Linked DNA regions of Homo sapiens: regions 1 and 2 are each linked to region 3. Evidence: promoter capture Hi-C in human tissues and cell types (Jung and others, 2019). All regions are on one chromosome and are shown on one strand. The core of a region is centred on a gene start or on the middle of the fragment in contact, and the rest is flanking DNA. Distances in the headings are between cores, read along the strand shown. Region 1 overlaps DMRT1 (doublesex and mab-3 related transcription factor 1). Region 2 holds the start of DMRT2 (doublesex and mab-3 related transcription factor 2). Region 3 holds the start of DMRT3 (doublesex and mab-3 related transcription factor 3).

The links. The method cuts DNA at HindIII sites, captures the fragments that hold promoters and counts their contacts. A contact is called where the count stands out against the background at its distance.
Region 1: a fragment that was not itself captured here is called in contact with the fragment with the promoter of DMRT3 in region 3 in 11 of the 25 tissues and cell types used here (H1 embryonic stem cells, adrenal gland, dorsolateral prefrontal cortex and 8 more).
Region 2: a contact is called between the fragment with the promoter of DMRT2 here and the fragment with the promoter of DMRT3 in region 3, in 1 of the 25 tissues and cell types used here (neural progenitor cells).

Annotation. Positions count from the first base shown.
Region 1 is chr9:888,845-892,529 of GRCh38, reverse strand. All of the region lies in intron 2 of DMRT1 (doublesex and mab-3 related transcription factor 1), which reads right to left. Among named protein-coding and RNA genes, the nearest start is that of DMRT1, 49 kb to the right of the region's middle. The HindIII fragment of the contact is 7,219 bases long and covers 1-3,685 here.
Region 2 is chr9:1,049,107-1,051,606 of GRCh38, reverse strand. It overlaps DMRT2 (doublesex and mab-3 related transcription factor 2), which reads right to left and starts at 1,250. Exons shown (of 4, transcript NM_181872.6): 1 at 832-1,250; 2 at 1-37. RefSeq lists an enhancer at 609-1,478. The HindIII fragment of the contact is 14,990 bases long and covers 1-2,500 here.
Region 3 is chr9:975,010-978,307 of GRCh38, reverse strand. DMRT3 (doublesex and mab-3 related transcription factor 3) reads right to left here and starts at 1,653. Exons shown (of 2, transcript NM_021240.4): 1 at 853-1,653. The coding sequence starts at 1,306. RefSeq lists enhancers at 1,486-1,985, 1,986-2,487, 3,020-3,298. The HindIII fragment of the contact is 20,406 bases long and covers 1-3,298 here.

The DNA.
Region 1 (3,685 bases), core at 63-2,562, 85 kb after region 3:
GTGGGGGATGAAACGCAACAGAACTGGAGGGCTGAGGGGCTGCCAGGAATTAAGATGCAGGGGAGGCAGAGAGCAGGAGCCTGGGTGTGTAGAGCAGAGGGTGGGCAGGTGTGCAGGTGGAGGGCTGGGTGAGGGTGAGGAACATGAAACGCGTGCTTTTGGGAGAGGCTGAGACTGGAAGCCAGATCCAAGAGTCACCACTGGAGGTGCTAGCTCCATCTGGGCAAGGAAGGGAGGAGCTGTTACAGAATAAAGGAGAGCCAAGACCTGGAGCGTGAAAAACAGAGAATACAACGTCACAGAGGTTAAAGCTGACTTGAATCACAGAGCAAGCAGGCTGTGGTGTCAACTGCTGCTGGGACATCAAGCAAACAGTTCTAGAAAAGACCAACAGACAACTAGGTCTTCAGGGCCTTGCGGTTTTAACCATGATGAAAGGAGCAGATGCAGGCCTGCAAGAGAGCAAGGAGCAACAAGCAACAAGAAATCCAAAGAGATGACTCCAGTGAATGGCCTCTCTCCTACCAGGACTACCAGGACGTGAGATCCAGCAAGAAGGCACCCAGCCTCCGGGCACACCACTGTGTCCTCCGTGCTTAGCACACTGCCAGACACAGTGGGTCAATATTTGCTGAAGGGACTGAGGAATAATCATTTTTCAAGTAGCTTGGCATCAAAAATAATGTGAGTTAAAAGTAAAAGCTCCAGCCAGGCACGGTGGCCCACGCCTGTAATCCCAGCACTTTGGGAGGCCGAGGCAGGTGATTCACGAGGTCAGGAGATCAAGACTATCCTGGCTAACACGGTGAAACCCTGTCTCTACTAAAAATACCAAAAAAAAAAAAAAATTAGCCAGGCGTGGTGGCGTATGCTTGCAGTCCCAGCTACTTGGGAGGCTGAGGCAGGAGAATCGCTTGAACCTGGGAGACAGAGGTTGGAGTGAGACGATATTGGGCCACTGCACTCCAGCCTGGGCGACAGAGCAAGACTCCGTCTGGGAGAAAAAAAAAAAAAAGTAAAACCTCCAGGGAGTCATAAGATCTTGTCGTTTCACTTTTATTTTGTTTATTTACTTATTTGAGACAGGGTCTCACTCTGTCGCCCAGGCTGGAGTGCAGTGGTACGATCTCGGCTCACTGCAACTTCCTCCTTCTGGGCTCAAGCGATCCTCCCACCTCAGCAGCCCAAGTAATTGGGAATACAGGCGCAAGCCACCATGCCTGGCTGATTTTTGTATTTTTTTTAAGTAGAGACGGGGTTTCACCATGTTGGCCAGGCTGATCTCGAACTCCTGAGCTCAAGCAATCTGAATTTTAATAAGCTCTTAGCTTTTTTTTTTTTTAATTTTTTTGTATAGAGATGGGGTCTCACTATGTTGCCCAGGCTGGTCTCAAACTCCTGAGCTCCAGCAATCAAACCACCTTGTCCTCCCAAAGTGCTACGATTACAGGCATGAGCCACTACACCTGGCCTTGTTTCACTTTTCTAAAAAGGTTTAAGGCTGAGCGCGGTGGCTCACGCCTGTAATCCCAGTACTTTGGGAGGCTGAGGTAGGTCTGATCATTTGAGGTCAGGAGTTCGAGACCAGCCTGACCAACATGGTGAAACCCCGTCTCCACTAAAAAAAAAATACAAAAAAAAATTAGCCGGACATCGGCATGGTGGTGCGTACCTGTAGACCCAGCTACTGCAGAGGATGAGGCAGGAGAATTGCTTGAACCTGGGAGGCCGAGGTTGCAGTGAGCAGAGATCGCGTCACTGCACTCCAGCCTGGGTGACAGAATGAGACTCTGTCTCAAATAAAAAAATAAAAATAAAGAAATAAATAGAGGTTTAAGTGTCCTTAAGCAGACAGAATTGGCTCATGAGAGAAATTTCCAGCACAATGCATGGCCCAAAGAAGGTGCCCAGAAACCATCCACTGGCTGAGTGTGTGGGAAAACAAAAACATGCAAGGGAGAGGGCAAAACTAAAGTGCAAGCTCTGGAAGGTCTGGCTGAGATCTACAACAAAATTTATTTTTGAAGCCTCATTTTAAAGTCAGCATTGGTGTCACTTTTCTCTGAAAGGAAACCAAATCCACCTATGCTAGGCTCCTGTAAATGCACTCCCAAACCACTGTTTTATTCTATTCCTTTCCTTTCTTCTCTCCTCTTCCCAGCTAATGAGATGAGACATTCCAATGCCATTATTCCACACCCCCAAGTCTGGAGAGGGCACATGTCCATTCGCTCCTCCTCAACTTCCCCACTGGGCCTTTCTCTTATTTTAAACATCAGTTTGGGCCGGGTGCGGTGGCTCACGCCTGTAATCCCAGCACTTTGGGAGGCTGAGGCGGGCGGCCTGAGATCTCAGCTCAGTCGGCCTGAGCCAAGATCACGCCACTGCACTCCAGCCTGGGTGACAGAGCAAGACTCCGGCTCAAAAAAAAAAAAAAAAAAAAACACGTTTGGTGGCGTTAAGTGGTGGTTTTCTATATCATTCTTTTGTTTTCAAGGTCATGTCTCTATTGTTTATCTGATTACAAAAGCCTTATGAGCTTCTCAAATTTAATAAATTATATGAGCATCTAAGTCAGAAAAAGAATAAATGACCTATCCTACCATGCAGTCATAAACATTAATGGTTCATTCCTATACAATCTCACAGACATTTAGGAAGGCATTTTAGACACTTAGGCCTGTCCCTGCATTAAAAACACTGAATACCTCCCACTTAAGGCCTGCCTTTCAAAAGCAAGCTTCTTAAAAAAGAAAACAAAATACAGTAGCAGACGAATAAATAGAAACCCAAGGATTCCAGCATTCCAGAATCAGGGCACAGCACAAGTTCTTGAATTTCTGCAGCATGACCTTAATCTGAACCTTTTATCAGGCCTCAGTTTATCAAGCAACAAAATAATGGCAGTAATAACTCTGAAGGTAACAAGAGAATGGCTTCAATAAACTGCATAGTAAACCTCAACTAAAATGCTACGTCAGGTCAAAGCAATAATTTGTTTTGTTACAGCTGACTGTAATTAGTTAACAACACCATCACTTTTCCACTTACCCGTATTTTATTTCCTCTTTCAAGTTATACCAAGCTTTAAGAATAAATAGGAGATATGTATTGGAAAAGTTGTTCCATACCAATATTTAAATAATAAAACCATTTGAACTTTGGAAGAGCAGATGTCTGCCTTTACGCTGTTAAAATGTTTAACCACTTTAAAAAAGTTAGATTTGACAAAGTACTATGTGTATAAACCACCGAATTCTATATGTTAAAATTCCCAATTAAAATTCTCAGTCAGTGTTAAAAACAGCTTCATAACTCCTGGCATTTATATGAACACTGCTAGTACATGGAAAGGTTGAAATTAATATCTGTCAAGCTACATGTGTCTAATCCAATGGTTCGCACAGTGTGGTCCCTGAATCAGTAGCATCAGCATTACCTGGGAACGTAAAGAAATGCAAATTCTTGGGCCCCACCACAGACTGACAAAATCATACACCCCGAGAATGGCGCCCAGCAATCTGAATTTTACTAAGCTCTCCAGAAATTCTTTTTTTTTTTTTTTAATACAGATGGGGTCTCACCATGTTGCCTAGGCTGGTCTCAAACTCCTGGGCTCAAGATATCCTCCTGCCTTACCCTCCCAAAGTGCTGGGATTATAGGTGTGAGCCACTGCATCCAGCC
Region 2 (2,500 bases), core at 1-2,500, 74 kb before region 3:
GGGGCTTCGCTGGGGCCTGAGCCTGGCGGCCCTCACTCTGGGGAAACACAAAGAAATCCAAAGACCCACCGGCCGCCGTCAGGGACCATCCCTGAGCCTCCGGCCCAAAGCTCCTGGTCTGCCCGCCTCCGGCCGCTTGAGTCATCCTGTTCTCATTACATGTCCCTCACTTCCAGGCCACACGTGCCTTTCCTGTATCTCCAGGGCCCCCAGGGATCCACAACCCAACAAAGGTTTTATTTTATTAATTCTAAGTGCTCTGTGAGTACCTGACCTTTAACCGTGGCCCTCTCTGGCTTTACACGGGCTTTCCGGACAAGTCCCTGGGTAACTCACTTATCACACACACACAAAATATTGTGTCCAAATAGGCAGCCCCAGGCCACTTGTCGGATTTCCCCATACTCAACTAGTATGGCCATGATGCATATAAAACTATCCGTGGAAGAACAGTTTTCCTTTGATTACAAGTGGCCCTTCAGACTCACTGAAGTACCACTCTATGCTTCCCAAATGCCTCTCATCAGCCTACACCACCACAAGGACCCCTCCTTGGGCTTGAAGAGGTCCTCTCACCCCCCTCCCCAAAATACTCAACTGAAAACCAAAATTTTGTTGTCATTAGCGTCCCATAAGGGCAAAGAGCACAATACAGACGCCCGTCCAGCCTTAATAGTACCTGAGGTGCACAGGGCTGAGCCGCGTGGGCTCTCTGTACTTAGGCCTTGGTTTATATATTTAAGGTAAGGCATCCAAGTCACACAGAAAAGGTGAAAGATGATTCACGCCCTTTGCCCTCCCTGACACCCCGAGCGGCATCACAGCACTCACCAAAACTTTGAGGCCCGGGCTGGTAGCCCAGTTAAAAGATATCCAGCTTTAGGATCTGGCGCTAGGGCTGCTGGCTGTGCATGCAAACAGAAATCGGGGTCGCTACCCTCAAACACGAGATCGGGAGCTGATAGCTGGAGGCCCGGAACGAACCCACTGGATGGTGGAGGGGGAGGGAGAAGGTAGGTGGAGGGAAGGAGGGAGGAAGCCAGTCAAGTCCTCAGCGACCTAGCCCAGCACATCCCGAACTCTGCAAAGTTCTGCTCGGTCTTCTGCAGCCTCGGGCGCCTCACCTTGCTGAGGCCGCTTTCGGCTTCCTCTGACCCAGGCTGGGCGGGAAAGGTCGGGCCGCCCCCGCCTGGCTCAGATCGCTGGCTCACCCGGCGGGCGCGCGCAGTTGCATTCAGCGCAGCGCCACTGGCTTCAGTCTGCAGACTGCGCTCCCCTTCCTAGTACTGTCCGCTCAGGCCCCGGAGCTTTACGTCCTCTGATTGGCCGGTTGTCAGGCGGTGTGAATACTGATTGGCCGAGGCACGCTGGCAGGGAGCCCTCCGCCTCCCGCGGTCTACACTCTTCTCTCTGAAGCGCTCCGCCAGAGTCCGCCTACCGGGCCTTCGGTGCAGCCGGCTCGCCTGTCCAGAATCTAAACCCGAGGTATGACGGTGCCTGCAAGAGAGAAGTCACCATTTATCTCGCGGACTGGGAAACAAGCAGAGATACATTCTTAGGAATGCGTTGTCCACAAGAGAAGGTAATAAACGACGAGGAAGAGATCAGAAAGACCAGTATTGGCCTCTATCAGCATCACAAGCATTTCTGCGACTCAATCAATCATTAATCCAAACTGGGCGTAAAAATGATGCCTCTCTTTCGGGGCGTACAGCGACATCCTTCTTTCTCCTGCAAGAGTACATCAATGGTTACCTGGCACCGAAACTCCTAGTTAGCATACAAATAGCCTGTTGATATTTCTGTGTCTAGTGCCACCTATTCTCGAAGTGCCAAATAGCTCCTCATTAACCTTCACCGAGCCCGTGTGGCAGGTGGCCAAGTCGACTACAAGTCACTTACATTTTTCTGTTATATCAGTTGCTATTACAGTTAATGTAGGGAAGATCAGAAATGCATGCTATTAAGAGAATTAGGTAAATCCATTCACACTAAGCATGCATTTAAACAAAGTTATTTTTAAAAAGATGACTACTTTTTAGTGTGCGTAGTTGTATTTATAGACTTTCTAACGACTCCCTCAAAAAATCCTTTACAAAATGTTTAACGATAAAAAATTTTCAACATATTAAAAGAAGGAATTAGTCTTCTAATTCAACGCTGCATTCTATTTCTTGAACTCAATTAAAAATAATATGGGCGCTTTTCTAACTGCATCTGTAAATAATCAAGACCTCTCGAGTAGGATCTGTTTAGGAGACTACAAAATTGGGTATCATTGCACTGAGTACATAGTAGGCCCGCAACAAATATTTGTTGAAGGGTGGGAATTCCTGACGTAATCCCAACGTTACTTTTGTCCGAGTTTGTCAGAATGTTAAAAGTTAACCTGGATCAGAGAAGTGGGAACAAAGGCAGCTTAGGAACTACCGCGACCAGCCAGAAGCACTATTCTCAAACCTTCAGTGATGTTGTAAAGTTCCTCCCCGGTGACCAGGCA
Region 3 (3,298 bases), core at 404-2,903:
TAAGAGACTCAACTCAGGCCTGCCAAGCTCAGGAGGCCTGGATGGAAACGGATGGGTGGTGGGGGATCAGATTTTTTGTATTCCTTTAAACCACGAAGACAGCTGAGGGCAGCCTGGGGAACAGTGTTAAAGGATCTAGGAGGTTCTGCAAAGGAGTGAATTCTGGGCGCATCAGATTCTTTTCCCGCTATCAGCTCACAAGCCTTTCCGGACCCTTTTACTATCATTGCTAAATGGAACTTATTTCACCAGTTACAAGAGTCTGGAGGCCACGGAGCAAAGCTAGAAAGGCCAGGGTTCTGAGAGTTGGATACTTGTCCTCACTCAAATTTTCCTGGGCCCTGGGCAGGGCCGGGCCGGCCGAGAAGCACAGCCAGCTCGACTCAGCCGAGTGTTGGCCTTGGCTCCTTCCCTACACCTACCTACCCATTCCAACCCCCAAATGGCAAGGACCTCTAAAGCCTGCAGCCAGGAAAATCCGACCCCACCGTAGTGAGTGTGCGCACGTGGGTTTTAATTTTGTCCTGTCTCAACTCCGTTGTCTCCCTGCTCAATCTGACACGTTCCGAACCCTTCAACCTGGGAAGGCACCTGGCGATACTGACGCACAGTCCCGTCGTTTGGCTGCCCGGAGGCGCCTTCCCTGCGGGCGCGAGTGCCACTCGCGCTGGGTCCAGACTCAGCCGGCTTCTCCCGGGAGAGGAAGCCCCGGCCTGGCGGAGAGTAGGAAGGAAAGCCCCGACAGGCCCACGTCCCAAAACTTTGCCTCCAGTCCTCCCAAGTGGAGCTGCAGCTGGCACTCCGAAGTTGCCCCCGCGCCCGGCCAAACTCCCGCACCTCAGACGCTCTTACCTGGCTTGGCGAGCTGCGCCTGCAGAGCCCCGGGCTGCGGCTCGGCAGTCCAACGCAGCGCGGCGGCCGCGGCCAACTCGGCAGCAGGGCGCGGCGGCTGCGGCTGCGACGGCTGAGAGGCTGGCGGCGGCTGCGGGGCGGCGACGGCGTCCCCCGGCGGCGGGGGCCCTGGCAGAGCGCGCAGCGAGTCGGGGATGAGGCTCTCCAAGCTCTCGTTGGCCTGCTGCCGGCGCAGCGCCACCTGCGCAGCCATGACCCGCTGCCGCTCGATGATGAGGATGCACTTCTCGCAGGTGCAGTCCTTGAAGCGGCAGTAACGCTTGTGGCCCTTGAGCCAGGACAGGACGCCATGGTTGCGGCAGCGCGCGCACTTGGGCGTGCGCTGCAGGGGCGCCCGTGGCGGCTGCGACACCGGGCCGCCCATGTACAGGTAGGGGGAGCCGTAGCCGTTCATGCCCCGGGCTCCCGAATGAGTTGGCAGCCTGGCTGCGGGAGAGGGCCAGGGAGCGCTGGACGGCGGGGCTGCGAGGCCCGCTCAGGGGCGGCCTCCGGGCGACGCGGCCCTTGGTCCCGCAGCCCCGGTGGTCGTGTGTGCTCCGGGGCGGCCGGAGGTGCCGCAGTCGTCTCTCCAGCTCCCTTCGCGCTCACAGCTCGGCCTCCCAGCTCACGCCCAGCCAACGCCGACGCGGGCCTCTGCCTTGGGCGCGCAGCCGGGTCGGCACGTCCTCCTTCGCGGAGGCGCTGCGGCGGCTGCAAGGAGCCGGCGACAGCTCTGATTAAGGTCTGAGCCAGCTCTTCTGCAGCTCCCTCGTGAGCCGGCCGGACCCAACACCTCCGCCGCCCTCCCCCAACCCCTCCTCCTTCCCACCGCCACCCCCGCCCCTGGGGTCCCTGTCTCCTTGCACTCCCCGCCCCACGCCTTCCTCCTCCTTTGCGCCCCTCGGGTGCCTGCACTTCACCTTCCTTGCCACCTGCAGCCAGGCCACTCTCGCGGGGGCGCTCGCGGCCCCCTCCTCCAAGCCCTCTCCGCTACCCCAGCCCGCGGCTGGAGACTGCGGCGCTCCAGAACGCGGCGGTGCTCGCGGGGCGGAGAAGGGGAGGACCAGCGGGAGTGAGGGTGGGGGTGCCTGTAAGCGAGTGAGGTGGCCGCTCCGCTTCTCTCTCTTCTCCTCCCTCCAGTCCAGATCTGGCCGCGTTTTTCCGAGCCCAAGGCCGCTTTTATCCCGACATTTGGCCGCAGAAGCTCAGCTCCGGGAGAACTCGAACCTACGGGAGTGTTGCGGTTGCACCCCGGACCTGGGTGGAGTTTAGGATAGGGGAGTGAAGTGATGTTGGTTTAGGAAAGTTAGGCTCTTTTCGTAATTTCCTTTTAGAACGTATTTTTTTCTCTTTTGTTGCTTTAGAAGAAAATGGTTTTGGAGATCTGCCGGCCCAAGGATGACAAGCCATTTTGCAGGCGAATTTTACTTTTCTACCCTCCTGTCCATGTTTTAATATAAAACAGTATCCTGAAAGGTCAGGGACGTACGTGCTCCTGTAAAGGATTTGTTAAGCGCCGGGTATAAACTTTCAAGGGGCAGACACAGAAGCCACATTGGCGCCCCCAAAGTTACCGATATCCTCTTCCCTCGCTCCCAGCAGCTACTGGAAGCAAACGGAGGTCTTGCGCCAGCCACTCAGTTCAAATCCCCACGGATTCTGTGATTCAGTTATGGATATGGGATGGGGCCACTTTTTCACCTCCTTAACCCATAGACCCCAGTCATAGATGTCTTGGGGGAGAGGGTCCTTCACAAGATGACAGCAGAAAACTTTGTTTAGATTATTTGCGTGTTCCCATTCTCCCAGGAGTAGCGGGCTTGGCCTAGTGCAGACTATCGCTATATATGCACAAAGAAGGCCCTCCACCCTCGCACCTCCCCACTGCCCATCAGCAAACAAGCAAAAACCAAAAAACAAACAAACAAACAAAACAAGTGGATACACTGCAGGGCAGCACAATAGCTCTATGCGAAGCGGGGCAGTTCCAGAGCCTTCGGTGGATGCGCTTCTGAGAGCGTGCACCAAGCCCATCTCCTGGTGGGGAATCAAATGCTAGATGAGAGCGTAGGCAAGTCCGCTGCAATGTCCGACCCCTCATGGGCACAGAGGCCCTTGTCCCCTCGGGGAGGCCGCTTTTCTCTGTACTGCCCTGGAAGTAAGCAAGCAACCTGAAAACTTTCCTCTGGTGTTTGCCATGAATTCAAGGGAAGCACCTCCAGGCGTTCTAGCAGCCAACCCTCTGCCCAGAAGGCTGATTTGCGGAGAGGAGGGTTGAAAACCGAACCCCAGTTGTGTGTTTCCCTTGAAGCCCTTAGCTGTTCCCGTTTCATACGCGTCCGGGAGGTGGGGATCGCGGGACACTGACCTGGTAGAGTGTGGACAAGAAGCTCTAGCATTCGAGTGC